2 separate regions of the Homo sapiens genome follow, and region 1 is linked to region 2. The links are contacts of gene promoters, found by promoter capture Hi-C in human tissues and cell types (Jung and others, 2019). All regions are on one chromosome and are shown on one strand. The core of a region is centred on a gene start or on the middle of the fragment in contact, and the rest is flanking DNA. Distances in the headings are between cores, read along the strand shown.

Evidence for each region. Contacts are between HindIII fragments. The study calls those that stand out against the background at their distance.
Region 1: a fragment that was not itself captured here is called in contact with the fragment with the promoter of BMPER in region 2 in 4 of the 25 tissues and cell types used here (dorsolateral prefrontal cortex, hippocampus, mesenchymal stem cells and 1 more).

What each region holds. Positions count from the first base shown.
Region 1 is chr7:33,224,628-33,230,124 of GRCh38, reverse strand. All of the region lies in intron 5 of BBS9 (Bardet-Biedl syndrome 9), which reads right to left. Among named protein-coding and RNA genes, the nearest start is that of BBS9, 98 kb to the right of the region's middle. The HindIII fragment of the contact is 7,781 bases long and covers 1-5,497 here.
Region 2 is chr7:33,902,228-33,908,127 of GRCh38, reverse strand. BMPER (BMP binding endothelial regulator) reads right to left here and starts at 2,589. Exons shown (of 15, transcript NM_001365308.1): 1 at 2,382-2,589; 2 at 1,225-1,310. The coding sequence starts at 2,514. The HindIII fragment of the contact is 7,840 bases long and covers 1-5,900 here.

The DNA of each region.
Region 1 (5,497 bases), core at 944-3,443, 680 kb after region 2:
AATTCAATAGTATCAAAACAATCTGATTTTTAAATGGGCAAAAGACATAAATAGACATTTCTCCAAAGAAGACATACAAATGGCCAAGACGTATATGATAAGGTGCTCAACATCATTAATCATCAGGGAACTGCAAATCAAAACCACTATGAGATAGTTCCTCACACCCGTTAGATGGCTATTATCAAAAAGGCAAAAAACAACAAATGTTGGCAGTGGTGTAGAGAAAGGGGAACTCTTGTATACCGTTGGTGGAAATGTAAATTGATATAGCCATTATGGAAAATAGGATGGAGGTTTCCAAAAAAATTAAAAATAGAATGATCACATGACCCAGAAATCCCTTTTCGGGGCATATACCCAAATGAAATGAAATCACCATCTTGCAAAGACATTTGCACTTCCATGTTTATTGCGGCATTATTCACAATAGCCATGATATGGAAACAACATAAGTGTGCATCAGTGGACAAATGGATAAAGAAACTGTGGTATATAGTTATAATGGAATATTATTATTGTATTACTATAAATATTTGTTATCTAAGAAAGAATGGGATCTTGCCATTTGCCACAACATGGATCAACATGGAGGATATTATGCAAAAGGAAATAAGCCAGACACAGAAAAAAATACATTGCATGTTCTCACTTATATGCAGAATGTAAAAAAAGCAAAACAAAACAAAACTCCAATACATAGAACAAAACAGTGGTTTCCAGGGGCAGATGGCAGGGGGAGAAAATGGGGAGACAGAATACACAATTAGAAATTAGAAGTATACAAGGATATGAAGTCAGAGTATAAAAAGTAGCAGATATGTACAATAAACAGGTCTAGAGAACTAATGTAAAACATGAAGACTATAGATAATAAAATTATATTGTATTTGGGATTTATGCTAAATGAGTAGATTTTAGCTGCTCTTGCCACAGAAATGAAAGAAAAATGGGTAACTAAGTGAGATGATGGATATGTTAATTTGTTTCACTATAGTAATCTTTTTAATACCTATATGTAACTCATAAATCATGTTGTATACCTTAAATATACATAATAAAATTTACTTTTGAAAGTTAAAATAAATAAAGCCTAAGTCTTCATCCTCAATTTTAATTCTCTGTTTTCATTTCCCTCTGTACATCTCAAAAACAAATTATAACTTCATGTCAGGAGATATAAAAATACAGCTGACCCTTGAACAACAACTGTTTGAACTGTGTGGGTCCCCTTATACGTGGAGTTTCTTCCACCTCTGCCACCCCTGAGACAGCAAAATTGGGGTTACCTGAAGAGGGGTCACCTCCTCTTTCTCCTCCTCCCCAGCCTATTCAACGTGAAGATGACAAAGATGAAGACCTGTATAATAACCCACTTAGACTCAATGAACTGTAAATATATTTTCCCTTCCTTATGATTTTCTTAATAACTTTTTTACTATAGCTGACTTTACTGTAAGAATACCATATAAAACACAAATAACATAGAAAATATGTGTTAATCAACTGTTTATGTTATCAGTAAGGCAACAGTAGGCTAATAATAGTTAATTTTCGGGGGAGTCAAAAGTTATACGTGGATATTTGACTTAAAGGAGGGGTCAGCATCCCTAACCCCCACACTGTTCAATGGTCAACTGTATAGAGAAAGTTATTCCTCTTCCTTTTGTGACTAAATCTTCTGGAAGAAAGAAAATGAAAAGGTTTCTGAATTTGAATAAAAGAAAATATAATCTAGCTGTTAAGGATTTTTATTTCAAATTAATATTTATTTTATTTTTAATTGCTTCAACTAAATAAATATTGAAGGATTTAAGGGCAAACGACATGAATAGACAATTCTCAAAAAAGGATATACAAACAGTCAACAAACATGAAAAAATGCTCAACATCACTGATTATCAGGGAAATGCAAATTAAAACCACAATGAGATATAGCACCTTATTTCTACAAGAATGACCACAATTAAAAAGCCAAAAAATAATAGATATTGGCATGGATGTGGTGAAAAAGAAACACTTTTACACTGCTGGTGAGAATGTAAATTAGTACAACCACTATGGAAAACAGTATGGAAATTCTTTAAAGAACTAAAAGTAGAACTACCATTCAATCCAGTAATGCCACTACTGGATATCTACCCAAAGGAAAAGAAGTCATTATATGAAAAAGACACATGTGCACACATGGTCATAAACATGTGTGTTTATATCAGCAATGCAATTCACAATTGCAAAGATATAGAATCAGCCTAAGTGCCCATTAACCAACAAGTAGATAAAGAAAATATGGTATATATACACCATGGAGTACTACTGAGCCATAAAAAGGAACAAAATAATGTCTTTTGCAGCAACTTGGATGGAGCTGGAGGCCATTATTCTAAGTGAAGTAATTCAGAAATAGAAAACCAAATATCGTATGTTGTCACTCATAAGTGGGAGCTAAGTTATGAGGATGCAAAAGCATAGGAATGATATAGAGGACTTTGGGGGTAGGGGGAAGGTTGGGAATGGGGTGAAGGATGAAAGACCACATATTGAGTACACTGTATACTGCTCAGCTGACAGGTGCACCAAAATCCCAGAAATTGCCACTAAAGAACTTATCTATGTAACCAAAAACCACCCATTCCCAAAGAACTATTAACTTTTTTTTAATTTTTTAAAAAAGATTAGGCCGGGTGCAGTGGCTCACACCTGTAATCTCAGCACTTTGGAGGATCAAGGCAGGGGATCACTTGAGGTCAAGAGTTTGAGACTAGCCTGGCCAACATGGTGAAACCCCATCTCTACTAAAAATACAAAAATTAGCCAGGCATGGTGGCGTGTGCCTGTAATCCCAGCTACTCAGGAGACTGAAGCACGAGAATCACTTGAACCTGGAAGGCGGAGGTTGCAGTGAGCTGAGAACTCCAGCCTGGGCAACAGAGTGAAACTGTGTCTCAAAAAAAAAAAAAATTGATGGCTGTAAGGTCCCTAAACAAATTACATAATATATTATCATTCTTGACACAGCTTTTTGAAATTTACTCATTCACTCTTTTTTGGTGCTATGTGGTTTTTAAAAATTGTGGTAAAATATACCATTTTAACCATTTTAGAATGTACAGTTCTGTGGCATTAGGTACATTCATAAGTGCATTGTGCAATCCACCACCATTCATCTCCATAACTTTTTCATCTTTCCTAAGCAAAAGTTTGTATCTATCAAATACTACTCCCCATTATCCTTTCCCAAGCCCCTGGAAACCACCATTCAATTTTGGGTCTACAAATCTGACTACTCTACTCTAAGAACCTTATGTAAAAAGAATCATACAATATTTGTCTTTTTTGTGACTGGCTTATTTCACTTAACATAATATCTCCAAGGTTCATCCATGTTATGGCATATATCAGTACTCCATTCTTTTTGTGGTCAAATAATATTCCATTGTACATATACACCATATTTTGTTTATCCACTTATCCATTGAACACTTGAGTTGCTTCCACCTTTTGGCTATTGTGAATAATGCTGCAATGAACAAGGATGTATAAATATCTTTCCTAATCCCTGCTTTTACTTCTTTTGGACATATACACAGAGTGGAGTTGCTGGATCATAATTTTTTAATTGTTTTGAGTATTAATTCTAGCCATTCTAGCCATATTTTGTATCCTTTTGTTTGTTCTATATAACATTGAAAGTAGAAGAGTTTTCTATAATCCAGCAGCACTTATCTAACACTTATCAATAAAAGACCTATCAGATATAAAATCACAAGAATGTGTAACAAAAGTAGACCTGTGTATTTGTTTAAACTCTAAAGCAGATTATCATCTAATGATCAAAAAGCCATTAAAAATCATCTCCAATGTTAATAGACAAAATTCTCCTGGAAAAAAAAAATCTCCACTATAGAGATGAGAAATTTTCCTCTTCTGGGTCACAAATTATCAAGGGGAAAGAGTAAGGATCACTTTTCAAACTGCACTGACAATCACTCACCAGTGAGAATCTATAGGTTCCCCCTCTATATCTTTTTTCCCTTAAGAATGAGAATCATTGCCACCAAGGCATTATTACTAAAGGGAGTGTGCTGTACCTTTGGCTATGTTGGAAGACAAAACCACTGAAGGTGCTTATCTAAAAACATCTTCCAGCAAATATATATACAAATGTGTGCATATGCACACACATGTGTACATATATGTATGTAAAATCAATGAGGATAAGTAAAATGTCTGTAGGTCTGCATCATAATTGGGAGTATCAATATGAACCCATAATATAGTTTACCTTTAAATACTAAGTATGTATATTTCCTAACTCTATCCACCACAACAGTGCAGAAGCAATAACCAGCAGGAGTACTGAACACCACCAGCACCCACACTGTGATCTTCAAATGCCATTTCCCACAAAAAAAAAAAAAAAAAGAACCAAGCTCCTTAAAGAAGTGGCTGATTCCAGTTCTGGGAGAGGAAATATAAAAGATGAGGCAGGAACATCTCATAATACGAAGCAAGAAAGCTAACAAAGACTACTGAAGCTATGTCAAAAGGGTTGATGAACCAACTGGGAAAAGCTCCCTTGGCTAAAGATTGTACAATATTGACATTAACAAAAATAATAACTTCAGATGAGTGCAGTGGCACATGTCCATAATCCCAGCACTTTGGGAGGCCAAGGTAGAAGGACTGCTTGAGGCCAGGAGTTCAAGACCAGCCTGGGCAACATAGCAAGACCCCATCTCTATGAAAAAATATTTCAAAAAGTTAGGCATGGTAGCAGGTACCAGTGGTCCCAACTACTTGGGAGGCTGAGGCGGGAGGATCACTTCAGCCCAGGAGGTCAAGGCCACAGTGAGCTGTGATTATGCCACGGTATTCAAGCCTGCGCAAAAGAGTGTGACCTTGTCTCAAAAAATAAATATAAACAAATAATAACAATAATATCAATAAATTGAAAGGCATCACATATTTAAATCCATTAGTTTATTATAATATGAAAACAACAACTACTAATTTGTCATCTTCAAAGGATGCTAGAGAACCAACCCTGAATTTTGAAAACAGGGAAACAACAAAGCATTTATTCTGCCTTTCTCCTAAGAATATATCTCTGGGTAACCTACTAGCTGATAAAGGGAGATTTCTTCCTTTAAATGTATTTCCGTTACATAATAAAAATTATAATATAACCATTTTAATCCCTAATAAATCAGTAGCTCTCTAGCACTGCCTAGATCATCAATGGCTACTGTTGCCTCAAAAAGAGAGACAACCAGGGAGCATGTGCCTCCTCACATAAGAATGAAACACTAGCTGTAAAGTTGTACTGCCAAAAAAATCAAACCTGAACCTGACCAGTCCTCTACATCTAACTACAAATTTACAGTAAATGTGGACAGAGGAACACATTTACAAGACACTGTGGGGATGCAATGAGCAAAATCCAGACTGTGGGACGTTAACAGGACAAACAATCCAACCTATTCGACAAGTAAGT
Region 2 (5,900 bases), core at 1,340-3,839:
ACTAAAAGATCATCAATGAACACAGCAACCCATAAATATGCAATCATAATACACCCTCTCTCAGCTCTGTTTTATTAGGCAGCAATATTTATTGTGTCAGCAAACGCAGTGCGTTTTTACTTGTTTCTGTTGATTTCCTTAGTCTTCCGAACCTGATAATTGTTTGATACAGCCATTTACCTTCACCCATTTATCACTTCAAAACATTGACCTCAACTCTTGTCATGAAAAAATTTATGTAGTATAAACTCAGATAGCTTGGCTTTTGCCTAAACCGAAATGAATTCCTTCTCCAGCGCCACACAGCATGCTGATCTAGCAACAAGTAGTCCTCTATCATTCTGGGGCTTTGCATTTGACTGCCTTAATGTATTTCCAACAAGGTTTTATAATGTGTAGTTTCTAACCAAATTTTGCCAAAAGTGATTGGCATGTAAAACACTCCTAAGCAAAAATGTTTACCTTGTAGGTCTATATTTCATCTCAGAAATTCTTATTCACATTACTTAATCTCCCCCAAGTGGTTACTTATTAGACTTATCATTAACTACTAAACTAAAATAAATGGAAACAAATTATTTTTTGAGTCTTCTAACCACTGATAGTGTTAACTAAGCAGCTGACAGCCAAGTGTCATTCTCTATTAAGGATGGAATTGTCCTTTCCGACTCATGCTTCCAAATCAGAAATAAAGACAGTATTTGAGGGTTTAGGGTATAACAGGCAAAGAAACCCGAGAAAGAAATCCAGAATTACATCTTGTCCTTATGTTTGTTTTTTGTGGCTGTCACCTCTCTTTCCCTTTGTCGCATACCTTATTCCTGACCTTCATACTTAAATCTTATCTCATCATTTTCCCACTGAGCTTAAATGACAGAACCAACGCAGAAAGTTTTGTTGTCCCAAGAATTTGGTTGTAGTAATCATTACTGGAAACAGACATTACAAACTGTCATTTCACCGAGACGTCATACAAAGCCTATCTGAAATTTACGTCTATAAGGATGATGTCAAAGATAAGAATTTCCAGCTGGATGAAATGGAAATTGCCAAAGTCCATAAAACTCAGAAATTAACTGGATTCAACTCACAAACTATGTACAGTTATGTGCAATTTTGTAATGATAAAGACAATTTGTAAGATCTGGTTATATTATCACATTTAATGGATTCACCTTATCAGAGAGAGCAGTTGAGTTCATATTACCTGATCTCCACACTTACCAAGCAGACACACATTATGCAAGGGTTGTCTGTGATAAATGGAATCTGGAGGACTTCACCTTCATTTTCACATTTTGCAACAGAACCTGAAATTCAGGGGGGAAAAATGTTTCATTTAAAGTTAGCTTAGCAGCATGATTTCAACATTTAAAATTTTTACACTAATCCTTTTTGAAACCTCTACCCAAACTTCAGAATTCTTAATGTGGTTTAAATTATTAAATTCACCAAAGCAAAACCTCTGCCCCCAACTCCATTTTCAATAATTTTATTTAAACAGGTTCAAAAAAGAAAAGACTATGATATAGGGATAAATTATCTGTTCTCAGATGGTCTAAGCACAATTCCAAGTATTTCACTGGATTTTTAATAACACTCCTCCTTTATGAAGATATTTCAACTAAGCACACAGCCCCATACGCAAAGAAAAAAATAAAAAATAAAATTTAAAAAAACCCTCAAATTGGGGCAGATTTTAAATTGACCAAAACTCAGAACTGAGTCAATAAACAGGCCTTTCTATGAATCTGTCTCGCATTGTCTTAGGTTTAAATCACTTTTTGAAACGCAATCCCCTTTTCCCTTCTCTTAGAAATTGACTCCATATTTTCTTTTCTGCACCAGGTGTCAGTAAAGTATGTCCTTCAGAATAGCAGCTGAGGTCTTCACCTGCCTGAAAACATATAATTATTATATCCGGCTATTAGTGCCCTTTTTAAATGATAGTTTCTTTAAATTCAAGGTCTTGAGAGCCAGTGCTTTAAAAAGCACTCCTAGCACAGTGGATGTATTGCAACCCCAAAGATGAGAAAGGAAGATGTGCGGAAAACTGCACAAATTTTTTTCCTGAGTTCTACAGAGGGAAAGATTAAAATAAAAGTTGAGGAAAGCATTAAAAATAAATAAAATAATTTCTCAAATTCAAATAGAAGAATGTCTATTATTACTACATTGAAGGCAACAGCCTCTCAGCCCGCAACCTCTTCACCAGCCTTCCCAGCCCTCCCGGGGCTTCGCTTCATCCCCATCGACCAGCGCAGGGCAAGCGCCAAGGTGCGCGCTCCCCACCCTCCCATCCCCGGGGCAAGCCAGCGCCACCTTTCCCAGGTACCAAACCGGCGTCCCGGAGGGCCGGTCCCTCCCGCCCCCTCCCCTACCTGTCAAGAAGGAGGAAGCCAGAGACATGGGGACCCCCGAGCAATTGAGTAGCAGCAAGACGCAGCACGTAATCCCAGGCGAGCGGCGGCAGTAACGCTCAGCCAGAGCCCCGACGCCGGAGAACCAGAGCATCGTCACCTGGAGGGAATCCCTGGCGACTGCAGGTCCCGCGCCGCCGCCTCTGCTCAGCTGCCGCAGCTCACAGTCGAAAAGGGCTCTCAGCCGGCGTGTCGGGAGACCGTCCGCGAAGGAGGGAGGCGGGCGCCCGAGAGCTGGGGGGCGGGGGGGTGTGAGGGAGGGCGGGGGGAGAGACCAAGGTGTGGGGGCGCCCGGGGAGGAGGGGTCCTGCGGCCAGGCTCCTCCGATGCGGCTTTTTTTTTTTTTTTCCTGAGGGAGTTGCTTGCAGTGGCTTAGCAGTCAGCCCCTCAGCGCCGGAGAGGGGGCCAGGAGGAAGGGGTGTTGCGGCAGCCGGAGATAGACTGAGAGGAGCTGCGGCGCTGCCGACTGCGCACTGCCGCTCAGCCGCCGCCCGGGCTGCCGCTACTGTTTCGGGGGCTGTCGCTGTCGCTGCCGCAGCGTCCTCCACTCCCGCACTCCTCACCTCCTGCCAGCCCCGCCGGCTCTCGGCCCTCCCGGAGCGCGCTCGCTCCGCCGCAACAGACGTGGGCTCACCGGGCGCCTCCCGGAACCCGCTGGGGGCGCCCGGGCGCAGGAGGGACTGCGCGATAGCTGCAGCGGGAACTCTCTCGGCCCAGCTTCCAGTTCCCCAGCCCCTCCAGGGAGGCCAGGGCCCCAGGGCGCGGACCAGAGCCGAGAAGGCGCGTCTCCACTGTCCGGGCGAGCGCGGCTCCTCCTCCCTTTCTTGGGGGAGCCCCGGGGATGCCGCAGCACTAGCGCTCAGGCCCGGGTGCCCCAATCCAGCGAGGGAGCAGCAAACGGGACGCAGGGGCGCCCCACCACCCTGCTCGCTCCCGGGTGCCCCACCTTTGGGAAGGAGCGACACACCCGGGGCAGTAGGGCCCCCGCAACTTTTCATGCCCTGCTTTGCTTCCCTCTGGCGGGGGCGCGACAGCGAACTCAGGGGGCTGAGCGGACAGAGGGGCAAGTGGCCTTAGAGATGTGTTCTGTGCTTAGCTGTCTGCGCGTCCTGACACTAGGGATGACCGAAGTTGAAACACACACAAGGTCGATTTAAAAACGTACCGAGGCAAACGCCTTTCGTCCTTAAAAAATGAACAGTCGCTCCGAGACTCCTCCCTTCCAATCTCGGGCGGACCGGGGCGGGGAGGTGGTGTTTGACTAATCATTCATTCACCCGAAAAGAGGGAGGAACCCCCGCCCCACCGCTCATCTCTGGCGGGGGCCGCCGCGCGGCGGCCTCTGCAGCTCGGAGCTCCGTCGCTCTCTCAGCCCGGCTGCGCCCTCTCGCCTCTGCAGCACTGGGTGTCGGGGAGTCAGCTCCTGTGATCCCCCTGCTGAATCGCCGCCTCCTCCCCACGCAGTGGCACCCTCTACTCAAAAGGGGTGCAATCGCAGAGAGATGATTTTTGTAACCAAAGTACGAAGGCGCGAGGTGGGAGTGAGGGACGCTTGGCAAGTGTTGGGACCTGACGATCAGCTAGCTGTCCTTGAGCTCACGGTGGACTACCGACTTCCTCTGTCCAAGAGTTGAAACCGGGTCCCCACGGAACGGACCTAAGGGTCTCCAGGCAAAGTGGGTTGTTTCCATTGTGGAAACTACAGCTTTGAAAATAAATGAGTCTGTTTGCTGACAGGTTTAATCTAGCTTCACCTTAACCCTTCCCTGCCTCGTTGACTGTTTATTCGTTTTTTCGAGTGATTTGGAGACTTCACTTAATTAGTGCAACATTGCCAACATCGCGACACACCGAGGAGCTGATGCGAGCACGTTGCTGTGACGTGGGAAAAATAAGAGAAGGGAAAACTGTCATTAGCTTAGCATGCTCCATTTCCCTCCCAAAATAGATTCTTACCGTAAAATTTAAATTGAAAGAGAAGGCTGATGTGTGATTCCTTCCCTCCCTCCCCCCACCCAAATAAAGCCATGGCCAGGCAGCTTCTCGGAAACCAGTGTGTTTATGTATTTACTAATCATAAAGATAATATGCAAAAAGAGAAAAATCTCTAAATCCAGCCTTACTTCCCAGGGACTCATTAAAAAATAAATAAAATTAAAATTAAAAATTAAATAAATAGAAACCTTTATTGCTGCAGATAAGTACAATCAGTTGGAACCACTATCTCCTCTATCTAAAAAGATTGTCCCTGGATGAGGCTTTTAGATAAAGTTGTTTATCATAATTTAATTATGGAAAGCTGAAGAATAAGGAAGCTGGGAGACCTTTTGTTGCCTTAGCCATAAATTTGGATAAATGCATGCTATGAAATTGCAAGACATTTGAAGGGTGTGCCTGAGTTACTTTGATATGCCTTCCCTCCCTGACACCAGCCAAACATCCTCAGAATTTGCATGACAAATTTCTTTATGATAGAATCTAGCTGTGTGTGGCATTTCCATAATGTGCAGCATGGTGCTTTGGAATGCACTGGAACTCTCCCTGTAGGTGCAAACCCAAAAACCACCTTAAAAACATTTTCATCTGTCTGAAAGTTTGCGAAGGGGAAAAATGCACAGAAGCCTTTGGCAAACCTGTCTCTTCTTCCTGTTTGTTATAAGCCTCTGCCACCAGCGATTTCCCTTGCTGCCTTCTTGGCAAATGGGCCCTGCTTCCGAAAGAGCAGCCTTTTCTCCAAGGCCTTATCAAGATGTTTTCCCATGCATCTACTGCTGCCATCACCCCTCAAGTGATAGTCTATCAGCTGACAACTGGTCTCTGTCTACACAAAACGGAGATATTCCAGGGTCAAAAAGAAAAAAGAATGCCTGCACTGAAAAGCACACAGATCTGCCTTCACAGTTTAACTAAATAAATAGTGGTACCATCCAAATCCCAAAATGGCTTTGGCTGAAATCAAAATGAGGGGAAAAAATGTGTATTTGGGTCTGCTTATGACATTTTTCAAGGGGAAAGAGGTGATGGGGCCCAAAGACCAATGTTTAACTCTGGGCCTGTCCCAGTCTCAATTAGACAAAACTCTGTCTCATCTCTTTCTCTGGAAAATAAACTGTGAAACCTAATCAGATTAAAAGGGGCCAGGCCTGCAGTAAGAGCAACTTTCTTCATCTCCTCTCAAAACTACGATGCTAAATTCTCACTGAAAAATTCAACTGAACATACAACTTAGTCACGTGGATTCAAGTCTGAAAGATGCTTCTAGAGAAATCACATCAACCCAGCTTCCTAAAAGTAGAAACCAATAGACCCTTCCCAAAGGAAACAGGGTAAAGAGATTGTGATACCTACCACTAGGGCAGGGTGCAAGGTATTTCATAAACTTGAGAAAGTTACACCTTAAAAAAGGCATTTACACTTGATAAAGATAAAGGATTATGCTACCAAGGATCTTACAGTCTAGTAAGGAGGATAAACTATGTT